Regions from separate parts of the Homo sapiens genome. Here all the other regions are linked to region 4. The links are contacts of gene promoters, found by promoter capture Hi-C in blood cells and fetal thymus (Javierre and others, 2016). All regions are on one chromosome and are shown on one strand. Each heading gives the region's core, a stretch centred on a gene start or on the middle of the fragment in contact. The rest is flanking DNA. Distances are from core to core; before and after follow the strand shown.

What was found. The method cuts DNA at HindIII sites, captures the fragments that hold promoters and counts their contacts. A CHiCAGO score of 5 or more calls a contact.
Region 1: a fragment that was not itself captured here is called in contact with the fragment with the promoter of LINC02482 in region 4 in 5 of 17 cell types (naive CD4 T cells, naive CD8 T cells, neutrophils and 2 more); the score reaches 8.5 in naive CD4 T cells.
Region 2: a contact is called between a fragment that was not itself captured here and the fragment with the promoter of LINC02482 in region 4, in 1 of 17 cell types (neutrophils). The highest score is 6.4, in neutrophils.
Region 3: a contact is called between a fragment that was not itself captured here and the fragment with the promoter of LINC02482 in region 4, in 8 of 17 cell types (naive CD4 T cells, total CD8 T cells, neutrophils and 5 more). The highest score is 9.2, in naive CD4 T cells.
Region 5: a fragment that was not itself captured here is called in contact with the fragment with the promoter of LINC02482 in region 4 in 1 of 17 cell types (total B cells); the score reaches 5.1 in total B cells.

The regions. Positions count from the first base shown.
Region 1 is chr4:6,769,315-6,772,014 of GRCh38, reverse strand. No RefSeq gene overlaps it. Among named protein-coding and RNA genes, the nearest start is that of KIAA0232, 12 kb to the left of the region's middle. The HindIII fragment of the contact is 1,922 bases long and covers 314-2,235 here.
Region 2 is chr4:6,569,176-6,571,875 of GRCh38, reverse strand. The region is part of intron 1 of LOC105374365 (a long non-coding RNA gene); the gene reads right to left. Among named protein-coding and RNA genes, the nearest start is that of MAN2B2, 4.7 kb to the left of the region's middle. The HindIII fragment of the contact is 5,024 bases long and covers 1-2,700 here.
Region 3 is chr4:6,794,685-6,797,384 of GRCh38, reverse strand. All of the region lies in intron 1 of KIAA0232, which reads right to left. Among named protein-coding and RNA genes, the nearest start is that of KIAA0232, 13 kb to the right of the region's middle. The HindIII fragment of the contact is 5,038 bases long and covers 1-2,700 here.
Region 4 is chr4:6,672,431-6,675,130 of GRCh38, reverse strand. LINC02482 (long intergenic non-protein coding RNA 2482) reads left to right here and starts at 1,250. Exons shown (of 2, transcript NR_134665.1): 1 at 1,250-1,447. MRFAP1L2 (Morf4 family associated protein 1 like 2) reads right to left here and starts at 1,056. Exons shown (of 1, transcript NM_138699.3): 1 at 1-1,056. The coding sequence starts at 918. The coding sequence ends at 559. RefSeq lists a silencer at 752-981 and an enhancer at 1,454-2,062. The HindIII fragment of the contact is 2,330 bases long and covers 1-1,652 here.
Region 5 is chr4:6,587,990-6,590,689 of GRCh38, reverse strand. MAN2B2 (mannosidase alpha class 2B member 2) reads right to left here. Exons shown (of 19, transcript NM_015274.3): 5 at 1,530-1,645. Among named protein-coding and RNA genes, the nearest start is that of MAN2B2, 14 kb to the right of the region's middle. The HindIII fragment of the contact is 9,387 bases long and covers 1-2,700 here.

The DNA of each region.
Region 1 (2,700 bases), core at 25-2,524, 97 kb before region 4:
GCAAAAGGGACTTTGCTGATGGGATTAAGGCTATGGATCTTGAGAAGGAGAGATCGTGACCCCCTGCTTTATAACCTCCCTTGGCTCCCCATCGTCCCCACAGTCCCAGGCTCCCTGCTTTCCTAGCGCAACCCTCCATCCTGTCCCTATAGACACCCCAGCCTCCAGATGTACCCAGGTACTTACACTTCTCTCAATGGGACATGCTTGTCACACCTCTCTGCCTTTGCAAATGCTGGTCCCACTGCCTGGAAAGCCCCCCGCCACTCTGCTTAACAACTGTTTTCTCCAGTGTGTCCTCTTTCTGGAAGCTTACCTTGTGTTCCCCCAGGTGGGTGAGGGGGTCTCTCTTGCAATGCTCCACTGCTAGCCCTTTCGGGCCCCCACCCCAAGGTGCCGCACTGGACAAATATGTTCTACCCACCAAGCTATGGGCTCCTCTGGGGAGCAGCTTTGCCTGCCACAACTTCGCTTCCCGGGCACCCAGCCCAGGGCCTGGCACACAGGACGGCTCAGGGAAGGACTCTCCTCTGCAGAGCAGGAGTCATGGGAAAGGCACGCATTGCTGCCCACGGCCCAGCCACTGCCCTCTCAGACCTGGCTATTTTTATTTCTTTTCCCTGCAGAGCTCAGGCCTGTGGGGCAGGTTCTCAGACCAAGCAAGTGAGACCTGCCAGATGGACTGAAGACATCTGCTGATGCTGCCCCAGCCACAGGCCAGCAGGAGTGGCCGTAGGGGCTCCTCCTCTAGGGCACAGCCCCAGACCTCAGCCAGGGAGCTTGCTACAGGCTCAGAGCCACCAGGCACCGCAGGCGCTGATGCATCCCAATGCTCAGGTCCAGCTTTGCCATGTTCTTGCTGTATGCCCAGAAGTAAATCACGTCACCTTCTTGTCTCCTTGTCTTGGCACATAGTAGGTGCTTGTAGGTGGCACTTTCTATGCTGGACCCTCTATCCTCATCAGCTTCATAATTCTCAGCTTCAGTGACTGTGCCTGCAGTAAATGAGCAGCTGCTCGGCACTGTGCTAGGTTCCCCACTTTATGAATGAGGCAATTGAGGCTCAGAGAGGCTAAGTAACTTGGCTAAGGTCACACAGCTGGCTGGTGGCAGAGCCAGGAGTTAACCCTGGGTCTTTGGACCCCACAGCCCAAGTTCACAGCCAATCGGCTTCATGACTATGGCCCCTGTGATGATCCAACCCCAAGGAAGCTGCAGCCTTGCTCCAATCCCTCCAACGATACAGCATGACAGGTGCACAGAGCTGTCTCCGTGAGGTCCCCTTATTTTGTGGACAAGCCATAGGGAGGAATGTGGCTACTCACATGAGAGGGCCCCTGCCTTCCTCCTGGAGCCACCTGGAGTCACCACACCAGGCAGCTCATCCCTGCTTGGTGACCCAATGTACAGAAAGAGCAGAGCCTTGTCCTAAGTCACACAGCATGGGAGTGACACAGCCAGAACTGGAACACAGGCCAGCCCTGTCCTGCCCTGCCATACAAGAAAGGTGGCCTGCCTGCACCTTGTCAGAAGACCCGAAAGCATTGCTGAAATTCCAGTTCCTAAATCTATGGCTTGTGCATCTCTATGGTTCCATCCCCACCACTGCAACCCCAAGGATCCTAGGACAAGGTGTGGAACAAGGATGGACAAATACATGAAAGAATTCTTCAACTCCTCTGACATTGCGTTATTACTGATTTGAATCTGGACTCATAAAGTAAGGACGTTCAGTATGTCTAAATTCTGTGACACCTTGAGGTCCCTCTTGAATGGGAGGCTCCGCAGTGAGAGTCAGGAGACTTCTTTGAATTCGAGTTGTCACACGTACCAGCTGTGGGACACCTGAGAAGTTGCTTAACCCCTCTGAGCCTGTTACCTCATCTGTAAGCTGATTCTACCCTGGAGGAGGATGAAAGTGTGATAAAACCGAGGTAATAAAACCTACCATACAGGTCATAGGGCGAATGAAATCAGAGGTAAAAGCACCTGCAGATAAGGACAAAATCACAGCAGCCCTAAAATGCACCAGGCCCTGTTTCTGTATAGATATTGTGCGGGCTTGTCCTGGAGCCAGACTGTCTGGGTTCAAGGCCTGGCTCAATTGATCACTAGCTGTGTGACCTAAGGCACATCAGTTTGAGCTCTCTGGTCCTCAGTTTCCTTATCTGTAAAATGGAGGTGATAATATGAACTACCTCACGGGGTTGTGATGAGAATTACAACCTAGAAGCTTTACATGGAGCTTCTCCATGTAAAATGATTAGTACGGTGCAGGACCGGTCAGCTGTCAACAACATCAATAACACTAAGGAACAGACCCAGAGAGAAACAGCTTGGCCACAGTCACCCTGCTAAACTCCAGGATCCGTCCACCATCACACACAAGCCCACCAGCTGCACTTAGAAACCACCCACCCTCGGGGAGTGAGCCAGGCTGAGCAGTGGGCCCCTGAGACAGCTGGGGTGTTGGGGTGCTCCATCCTTGGGCCAAGCCAGGCCTGGGGACTCTGTTATCAGCACCACATTTAGTGCCTCGAAATGGGTGTGCCCCTATTGGTCCATACTGGGTGCAGCTGCTTTTGCCCATGCTGGGTAGTAAGCAGAGGGAGACCTGGGAAGAGAGTGGGGGTGGGGAGAGGAAGGGGAGCACACAGAGGCAGCAGCTGCTCAGAAGGGGCATCCCCACAACCGCAGCTG
Region 2 (2,700 bases), core at 77-2,576, 100 kb after region 4:
GTGCCTGGAGGCCTGAGTTGCCCTGTCAGCAGTCCAACTACCCTGAGGCCACCATGCTGTGAGGAAGCCCAACCAGCCCACATGGGGCAGACCACAGGGAGCAGCTCAAGATCACCATGCTGTTTCAGCTCCAGCCCCCCATCTGACTACAACAACATGTGAGACCTCATGTCATTTTCTCTCCTGCCCACTGTATCACAGCTGTGTAGGGTTTCATTTGTACTTTCCTCAAGGCTCTTGCGTGAGCTCTTGCTGCAGCTAGTCTCAGGCTTGAAGGTGATACTCACAACCCCCTCCTGGATTATTCATTCAGATCCCTTTCACCCTCAGCTAGACCCATGCTGGACTAGATAGCTTACCTGGTGGGTTGCCCCAGATCCTCACCAACGAGGATGAGCCCCTGGTGACCATTCCCTTCTTGAGCCATAGCTGCTCACTTGCCTATTTGCTGACTACATCAGGTGAAAGAGTCCTGAGGGACACCCATGTGGGTGGCACACAGTCTTCTCTGCTTCCATTGTGTGACAGCAACCCTACCTCCTCTGATGGTTCAGGTCAACTGCCCCTGCTCGATGGGTGACTCTTCCCCTGCCTACTGGTGTCTTGACATGAGTAGCCTGGCGTGACTGGTGTCGCTTGGTGGAAGCATTCCCCTTTGGAAACCAGAACCTCTGAACCTACAGAATCTGTAGTTGTGTGGACAGGAAGCACATATTCTCCAAGTAGGTCACTGAGAGTGATGCTAAATTAGGCTATTCCTGCTTCCATTCTTTGGTTCTTAGGCCCAGGTATTTTACCCACTGGGGACATCGTGTACTGGTCATTGACTTGGGATGTACATACACCCTGGAGGATGGTGCCCTTGCTTCACAGGTGGCACCTCCAAGCTGGTGCTGTGGCTGAGCCTTCAACTGGCCACTCCATTTCCCCATCAGCCAGCAGCCTCTGGGTTGTACAGCACATAATAGGACCACTAGACACCATGGGTGTGCCTGCGGTTGCACCTCTTTTGCTGTGAAGTGGAGCCCTTGGCCTGATGTGATGTTACACCCTCGCTTGGGGCTCTAATACTGGAGCAAGCCGGCCACCATGTCATGAGGACTCTCAAGCCATCTGTGGAGAGGCCCATCTACAGAGGAACAGAGGCCTCCCACCAACAGCCGGCACTGTCTTGCCAGCCCGGGTGTGAGTGCCTTGGAAGCAGGCCCTCCAGCCCAGGCCCAGCCATTCCAGAGGACATCCTGACTGCAACCTCAGGGAGGCCCACAAGGCACAACACACAGCGAAGCCACCCTGGATTCTTCACCTGCAGACACCGGGATGATCATAAACGTCTATTGCTGCTTTCAGCCACATTTCTTGAAATATTTGGGTATTTTTCCCTAGTGTCTGGTTACCTGAGTCAATGAGCATCAGTCCTGTTGGGGAAGGAGTAGGGGATTCCCATAGGCCTTTGTTACGATGTTGCAGAGTCCTTCTTCCTGGAAACACGCTTTTCCTTTCAGTGGATGGGATCTGGACTTGAAAACTGGCTCAGGTCTGGACACTGGGCAAGGGATCAGGATTTATCTTTGGGTGGCTACCCTCAACTTCCTAACCCCATCTGCCTTGATTTGTCCAGAGAGGATGGGCCAAGTCTCACCTGTGTCAGCCATCCATCTATCTTGCCTCTTTCTTTCTTTCTTTCCTTCCTTCTTTCTTTCTTTTTCTTTCTTTCTTTCTTTCTTTCTTTCTTTCTTTCTTTCTTTCTTTCCTTCTTTTTCTTTCTTTCTCTCCTTTCTCCTTCCTTCCTTTCTCTCTTTCCTTCCTTCCATCTCATTCCTTCCTTCCTTCCCTTCCCTTCCCTCCCTCCCTTTCTTTCGTCTCTCTTTCTCCTTCCTTCCTCTCTCTCTTTTCTTCCTCCCTTCCTTCCTCCATCTCCTTCCTTCCTTTCTTTCGCTTTCTTTCTTTCTATCTTTCTCCTTCCTTTCTTCCTTCTCCTTCCTTCCATCTCCTTCCTTCCTTCCTTCCCTCCCTCCCTCCCTCCTTTCTTTTTCTTTCTTCCTTCCTTCCTTCTTTCCTTCCTTCCTTCTTTTCTTTTCTTTCTTTCTCTCTCTCTTTCTTTCTTTCTTTCTCTCTCTCTCTCTTCCTTTCTTTCTTTCTTTCTTTCTTTCTTTCTTTCTCTCTCTCTCTCTCTCTCTCTCTTTCTTTCTTTCTTTCTTTCCTCTCTTTCTCTCTTTCTTCTTTCTTTTTTTTGGAGTTTTACTCTTGTTGCCCAGGCTGGAGTGCAATGGCATGATCATGGCTCACTGCAACCTCCACCTCCTGTGTTCAAGCAATTCTCCTGCCTCAGCCTCCCGAGTAGCTGGGATTACAGGAGCCAGCCACCACGGCCTGGCTAATTTTTTTTTTTTTTTAAGTAGAGATGGGGTTTCACCATGTCGGCCAGGTTGGTCTTGAACTCCTGACCTCAGGTGATCTACCTGCCTCAGACTTTCAAAGTGCTAGGATTATAGGCATGAGCCACCACACCCGGCCAGGTGCCGTTTTCTATCAAGCATCTCCATGGCTCGCCGTGGACCTCACTGTGTTCCAGCCTTGGTGCTTGTTAAAGTGATTGCACTGACCTTGCTTCCAGTGGTTTGGTGCAGGCTCCTAGCCCCTTATTTCTGGATCCTCTTATTCCCAGCTCTCTCAGCAAACCTGGTTCTGTAACGGCAC
Region 3 (2,700 bases), core at 155-2,654, 120 kb before region 4:
CCAACAGGCCTGGAGGCATTTTGAGAAGATGACAGGCCTGAACCTCAAGACAGAGAGAAAATGGCAACCAGCTCTGACCCCACTTTAGCCAATGGCAAAATGCAGGGTGCTACCTGATCTTTTTCAACGTCATCTTTTGCCCACCCTGGCAAGGCCTAAGTAAGTTCCAGTCAGAGGAGCTTCAGTTTCCATGACAGTTTCTATCTCATGGCTTTGGAAAAAACTGTTAAAACACTGCTCTTAAATGTGCAAGTGTGTTTTTTGGGAAATGAAATAATAAAATACAGAGGAAAAAAGTATAATGTCTAAAGAAAAAACAATCTGCCTGATACTACACTGTTATAGCTACCAACATATTAAAAAGAAGTCGACGTGCTGCATGAGGAAGGCTCTCCAACTGACTGTTGTCAGTAAATGTCCCAAAGTCTGTTCCTATGAGATGATCAGGACAGAAGGCAGTGCCAAAGGATGCTGACTAACATAACCAAGTGACCAACATATAAACCAGAAAACCAAGAATGGAAACGAAGCCCTCCCATCACGGTAGCTAAGGCCACTCAAGGAGCCTACTTGAACATTCTCAAAGACACCCTACGAGCTCAGAAAGAGCAAAAGGAAGGTAAGATATTCTTATGGTAGTTTTACTAAGTGAAGATTACAAGCTGAAAGAAAACCGTGTGACCAAACTTTTAAGGGCCATAAGAGTCACCTTCTTGCACTAACTGTGTCAAATCTTATAAATGTGTGCTTCCTTTTCTACTATCATGATTGATTCCTCAGATAGGCTATGTTAGAGCTTTCTTTAAACAGGTGGCATGAAACTCACTTAAAAAAGAACAATATGGTCGGGTGTGGTGGCTCACGCCTGCAATCCCAGCACTTTGGGAGGCCAAGGCAGGCAGATCACCTGAGGTCAGGAGTTTGAGGCCAGCCTGGTCAACATGGCAAAATGCTGTCTCTATTAAAAATACAAAAATTAGCCAGGGGTGGTGGCACACACCTGTAGTCCCAGTGACTTGGGAGGCTGAGACATAAGAATCGCTTGAACCCAGGAGGCAGAGGCTGCAGTGAGCTGAGATCGTGCCACTGCACTCCAACCTGGGTGACAGAACAAGACTCTGTCTCCAAAAAAAAAAAGAACAATATAGGGAAGGATCTCAATCCTATCCTGATCCTACAGACCATCTCCAGGACTCGTTCACTTCTACGAATAACCAATTCCACATATTACATATTAATTAGACCTAGTTTCTGATACTTTCCTTTTACTCAAGTTCTAATCAAATTTTAGTGCAGCTCACTTACGCACAAACCACACCTCTCATCATCCTCTCCTCACCCAGTCCACACCCTCGCTGGCTCCTCCGCTGGCTGCTCCTCCTCTTCCCAGCTTTCCAGGCTCTGCCCTTGGACTTCTCTATTTCCATTCGCTTCCTCCACCAGTGCCTTCAAGAGCAAAATAATGCCAGTCATATATGTAATTAAAATTTTCTAGGCCAAGTGCAGTGGTTCATTCCTGTAACCCCAGCACTTGCGGAGGCCAAGGCAAGCGGACTGCATGAGAGCAGGAGTTTGAGCTCAGCCTGGGCAACATAGTGAGACCCAGTCTCTACAAAAAAAGTAAATTAGCTGGATGCAGTGGCGCATGCCTATAGTCCCAGCTACTCAGGAGGCTGAAATGGGAGGACTACTTGAGCCTGGGAGACCAAGGCTGCAAGAAGCTGTGAATGTACCACCGCACTCCAGCCTAGGTGACAGTGATGTCCTAGCTCAAAAAATAAATAAATATATTTCTAGTAGCCATATTAAAAAAGAAACAGGTGAAATTAACTTTAATATGTTTGATTTAACCCAGTATATCCAAAATAATATCACTCCAAATATAATGAAGGTAAAAATTAATGATATATGTTACATTGTAATTTTTCACACTGTCTTTGGCATCTGGTACATAATTGACACAGCGCATCTCAATTCAGATTAGCTGCATGCAAAGTTCAAAAGCCACATGTGGGCCGGGCGCGGTGGCTCACGCCTGTGATCCCAGTACTTTGGGAGGCTGAAGCAGGCGGATCACAAGGTCAGGAGATCGAGATCATCCTGGCTAGCACGATGAAACCCTGTCTCTACTAAAAAATACAAAAAAATTAGCTAGGCGTGGTGGTGGGTGCCTGTAGTCCTAGCTGCTCAGGAGGCTGAGGCAAGAGAATGGCATGAACCCGGAAGGCGGAGCTTGCAGTAAGCCGAGATCATGCAATTGCACTCCAGCCTGGGCGACAGAGTGAGACTCCATCTCAAAAACAAAACAAAACAAAACATGTGGCTTGTGGCTGCCTTATTTAACTGCGCAATCTGGCTTACCTCTTCTAGTCCCATGATTATAAATACCACCTATGCAGAGACTGCTCCATCCTTTCCCTCTACCCTGCTTCTTTCTCTTTAATTCCAGAACTCTAATGCTACCAAGCTACTAGACAAGGAGATATCTGACTGGCATCTCAAACTTATAACATGTCTAAAGCCAAACAACACAACCCTGAATTCTCACCACCATTACCCTTGCCATGACCTTCCCCATGTCAGTCAAGGGCAACCCCACGCTATGATGGCTCCTCCTCGCACATCCCACATCTCGTCCATCAGCAAACCCTCTTAGGTGTACCTTCATCATGGATGCAGAACCAAGGCCTTTCACTTGCT
Region 4 (2,700 bases), core at 1-2,500:
TACTGGAAATTGAGTGGCTAATGTGGAGAAAACGCAGGCAGAAAAACAGGGGAGACAAAACGAAAGGCTCTCTTGGTTTGAGCCTGTCCAAGCAGCCACGACTCCTTATCAGGTGAACACAGTTCGTCAGTTGGCCACCTAAAGTACAAGTGGGAGAAATTCATCATCACAACATAAATTTTGAGCTTGATATTCTCATATCCGGGAGTCAAACAAACCCAACCACCTGTGCACAATGCTTCCACCTGCAGGAAGGTCATCGCAAACGCTCCAATCTCGTAACAACATTCACACGTTTCCAGCATGTACCTCCGCTTCACACCTCTCTCCCCCCACGTAGTGACCCACCAGGTCTACGTCCTGAAAATACTTCCAGTGGTCATGACTCTTTACAACAACATATCAAATTATTTTCTCTAATTACCTATGAAAAAAGAATGAAACCAACTCCGCGGAGAGCGTGGCACGGCTCTGCGCTCCCCTCCCTGCCTACCCAGCGCCTTCCACGCGGGACACTCCCCGCCGCGCTCCGCTCCAGACCCGCGCGGCCTCGCCGGCTCAGCAGCACTCGCAGCCGGCGATCCGCTGGTGCAGCTCCACGATCCGCCTGCCCATCCGCGCCGCCTCCGCAGCCTTCCTCTCTGCTTCGGCGCACAGCCGAGCCACCCGCTCCTCAGCCTCCGCACGCGGGCGGGGTGCTGGGGCCCGGGCGCCCCGCTCCTCTGCCTCCACCTCACTCTTGATGGCGTCGAGCAGGCTCTGGATCTCCAGCAGCTTCCTGCGGGCCCGCCAGTGCGCCCGGGCGCGCTCGCGCTCCAGGGAGGCCAGGTTCTCGCGGCCGGCGCGGGGCGCGGGGCTCAGCGGGCTGCCCGGCTCCTCGCGGGGCTCCCGCGCCTCGTCCGCGTCCACGGGCCGCATCACGCCGCCGCCTCTTCCAGCCCGCGGGGCACGCCGGGGCTGCTCACCAGCAGCGAGCGCGGAAGCCTCGCTGTCACCAACGACCAGACTAGCAACAGGTTGCCCCAACTTTCCGCAGCGAGGACGGTATCCAAAATGGGCTACTAGCCGTCGGCCAGGACGCTGCCACTGCGGCCCTTTTACGACACCTGCGGTCCTTTACCGCCACGCAGCAAGCGAGAACCGCATTCGGGGCTCCCGCCTCAGCGGTCCTGCGCGCGCACGCGCACTTGCACGCACGCGTACCCCCCCGCACGCATGCGCACCCCATGTCCCCGCCCGCTGTAGCGCCACAGCTCTTTGGGCGTTGATTCTAGGGTCAGGGCCCTCACTCACACTGCTGGAAGGTTAAAGTCGACTTCACGCTAGTTTAAGGAAATATCTGACGCTGATAACCATGTCCCAAGCACTGCTCTAAGTTCCCAATGTGTCCGGAATTGGTGGGTTCTTGGTCTCACTGACTTCAAGAATGAAGCCACGGACCCTCGCGGTGAGTGTTACAGCTCTTAAAGTGGCGCGTCTGGAGTTTGTTCCTTCTGATGTTCGGATGTGTTCGGAGTTTTTTCCTTCTGGTGGGTTCGTGGTCTCGCCGGCTCAGGAGTGAAACTGCAGACCTGTTACGGCTCATAAAGGCAGTGTGGACCCAAAGAGTGAGCAGCAGCAGGATTTATTGCAAAGAGAGAAAGAACAAAGCTTCCACAATAGAAGGGGACCTGAGCCGGTTGCCACTGCTGGCTCCGGCAGCCTGCTTTTATTGTCTTATCTGGCCCCACCCACATCCTGCTGATTGGTAGAGCCGAGTGGTCTGTTTTGACAGGGTGCTGATTGGTGCGTTTACAATCCCTGAGCTAGACACAAAGGTTCTCCAAGGCCCCAGCAGAGTCGATTGGTATATTCACAAACCCTGAGCTAGACACACGGTGCTGATTGGTGTATTTACAATCCCTGAGCTAGACATAAAGGTTCTCCACATCCCCACCAGACTCAGGAGCCCAGCTGGCTTCACCAAGTGGATCCCACACCAGGGCTGCAGGTGGAGCTGCCTGCGAGAACGGCACCGTGCGCCCACACTCCTCAGCCCTTGGGTGGTGATGGGACTGGGCGCCGTGGAGCAGGGGGTGGTGCTCGTCGAGGAGGCTCGGGCAGCACAGGAGCCCATGGAGGGGGTGGGAGGCTCAGGCATGGCGGGCTGCAGGTCCCGAGCCCTGCCCCTCGGAAAGGCAGCTAAGGCCCGGTGAGAAATCGAGCACAGCGCCGGTGGGCTGGCACTGCTGAGGGACCCAGTACACCCTCCGCAGCCGCTGGCCCGGGTGCTAAGCCCCTCATTGCCGGGGGCTGGCAGGGCCAGCCGGCTGCTCCGAGTGCGGGGCCCACCAAGCCCACGCCCACCCTGAACTCCAGCTGGCCCGCAAGCGCCGTGTGCAGCCCCGGTGCCCGCTCGCGCCTCTCCCTCCACACCTCCCTGCAAGCTGAGAGAGCCGGCTCTGGCCTTGGCCAGCCCAGAAAGGGGCCTCCACAGTGCAGCAGTGGGCTGAAGGGCTCCTCAAGTGCTGCCAAAGTGGGAGCCCAGGCAGAGGAGGCACCGAGAGTGAGCGAGGGCTGTGAGGACTGCCAGCACACTGTCACCTCTCACCAACATTCTAAATCATAAACACCCAGGCCGGGCGTGTGGCTCACGCCTATAATCCCAGCACTTTGGGAGGCTGAGGTGAGAGGATCGCTTGAGCTCAGGAGTTCCATACC
Region 5 (2,700 bases), core at 107-2,606, 85 kb after region 4:
TGCACCTGCAGCCTGGAACCCAGCTTGCTCTCCAGGCCCAGGCGGGATAGAGGCAGGGAGATCACTGGGGTTGAGGGCAGGTGAGCTTGGAGGGTGTTAGAGAGACACTGGACAGTGCCCTGGAGGACCGTGGACGGGATGGGGTGCCGATGGATGGCTCCTGGAAGTCAGCACATTCAACTTCCTCACCTGGCAGGTACGGACAGGCGAGGCGAGAGCAGAAGGGGACCTGTCATGGCCAGGAAGGAGGTTCTTGGGAACACTGATGTAAAGACCTCATCATTGATTGATTGATTGATTGATTGAGACAGAGTCTTGCTCTGTGGCCCAGGCTGGAGTGCAAGTGGTGCAATATTGGCTTACTGCAACCTGTGCCTCCCGGGTTCAAGTGATTCTCCTGCCTCAGCCTCCCAAGTAGTTGGGATTACAGGGATGCGCCACAACACCCAGCTAATTTTTTTTTTCTTTTTTTGTATTTTCAGTAGAGACGGGGTTTTGCCATGTTGGCCAGGCTGGTCTCAAATTCCTGACCTGAAGTGATCCACCTGCCTTGGCTTCCCAAAGCGCTGGGATTACAGGCATGAGCTACTGTGCCCGGCCTATTTTTTTTTTTATTTTAAATAGAGACAGGTTCTCACTCTGTTGCCCAGGCTGGAGTGCAGTGGTACCATCAGAGCTCACTGTAGCCTCCAACTCCTGGATTCAGGCGACCCTTCTGCCTCAACCTCCTAAGCATCTAGGACTGCATGCACCCAGCTAATTTTTAAGTTTTTGTAGAGATAGGTTCTCACTAGGAAGCCCAGGCTGGTTTTGAACTCCTGGACTCAAGTGATTGTCCTGCCTCAGCCTCCCAAAGTGCTGGGATTACAGGCATGAGGCACCGCACCCAGCCAAGATCTCATCCTTTAAACAATCCTCTTTTGGGACAGGGACTCATAACAAGAAGCAATTCAGAGTCACACAGAACTGGAGTCAAATCCTGCCTCCCCTACTTACCAGCTGGGTGACCCTGATCTGGTCACTTACCCTCTCTGAACCTCAGTTTCCACATCTGTAAAATGGGGTTGATAACCCCACCCACTCTGCTGGGGAGGCTGAAGAATGGGACACCATGTGCTTAAGGAGCTCTTGTCAAAAACTGCAGAATAGGGCTGGGCGCGGCGGCTCATGCCTATAATCCTAGCACTTTGGGAGGCCAAGGCAGGTGGATCATCTCAGGTCAGGAGTTTGAGACCAGCCTAGATAACATGGTGAAACTCCCTCTCTACTAAAAAGACAAAAATTAGCTGGGTGTGGTGGTGGGTGCCTATAATCCTAGCTACTCAGGAGGCTAAGGCAGAAGAATCGCTTGAACCCAGGAGGCGGAGGTTGCAGTGAGCCAAGATTGCGCTACTGCACTCCGGCCTGGGCAACAGAGCAGAAGCTCTTGTCTTAAAACCAATAAACAAAAACAAAACTGCAGAACAGCTGCAGGGGCTGGGCAGACCCTGCTGTCTGAGATCCCAAAGGCACTGCGGAAGGGCACGTACCTGTTGGAGAAAGGGATGTGGGACGGGGTGCAGTAGCTGTACTGGTCCATGATGTGCGTGAAGATTTCCTGCCGCTCTGAGAGGGATGGGGACCCTCGCCACACGAACTGCAGCCCCTGCAAACCGAGGAGAAGAATGAGGCTGGAGGGGCCACATGGCTGCCCCAGCTCCACTTCCCTCAGCCCCATCTGGGTGTCTCCCGCCTGCCCTCACCTTGGCCCTCCCTCAGTGGTTCAAGGATGAGCTCTCCCCTGCCGTTTCCGTCTAAGACTGGTTGTGGGATTTGCCCTCCGGAAGGAGTGCTCATTCACCCCACCCACTCCTCGATGCAGGCTTTTCTCTGCCAAACCCTGTAGAATTAGCACCTTCTAACTCTGCTTGAATGCCCCCAGGTGCAGGAAGCTCATTACTTCTCACCAAGTGTGCAGTTTATTTTTTTATTTTTTATTTTTTACAGAGTCTCACTCTGTCACCCAGGAGTGCAGTGTCACGATCTCAGCTCACTGAAACCTTCACCTCCCTGGTTCAAGCGATTGTCCTGCCTCAGCCTCCTGAGTAGCTGGGATTTCAGCCACTTGCTACCACGCCCGGCTAATTTTTGTATTTTTAGTAGAGACGGGGTTTTGCCATGTTGGCCAGGCTGGTTTCGAACTCTTGACTTCATGTGATCTGCCCACCTCCCAAAGGGCTGGGATTACAGGCGTGAGCCACTGTGCCCACTGGAAATGGGGTCTTTACAGAAGTAATCAAGTTAAAATGAGGTCATTAGGGTGGGCCCTAATACAATAGGATGGGTGTCCTCAGAAAAAAGGAAAATTGAGACACAAACATGCACCCAGGGAAGATGATACGGGGGCACTGAAAGAAGCGGGGCATCCACAAGCCAAGGAGAGAGGCCTGGAGCAGCCCCTTCCCTCACACCTTCAGAGGGAGCGTGGCCCTGCTGACACCTTGACCCTGGACTTCCAGCCTCCAGAACCATGGGACAATATGTTTCTATTGCTTGAGTCACCAGTCTGTGGTCCTTTGTTATGGCAGCCCTAGCAAATGATGACACCGTCCCATAAGGTTGCTGTGAGGGTTAAAAGAAATGCAGGATGAAGCTGGGCACCAGTGGCTCCCGCCTGTAATACCAGCACTTTGGGAGGCTGAGGTGGGCGGATCGCTTGAG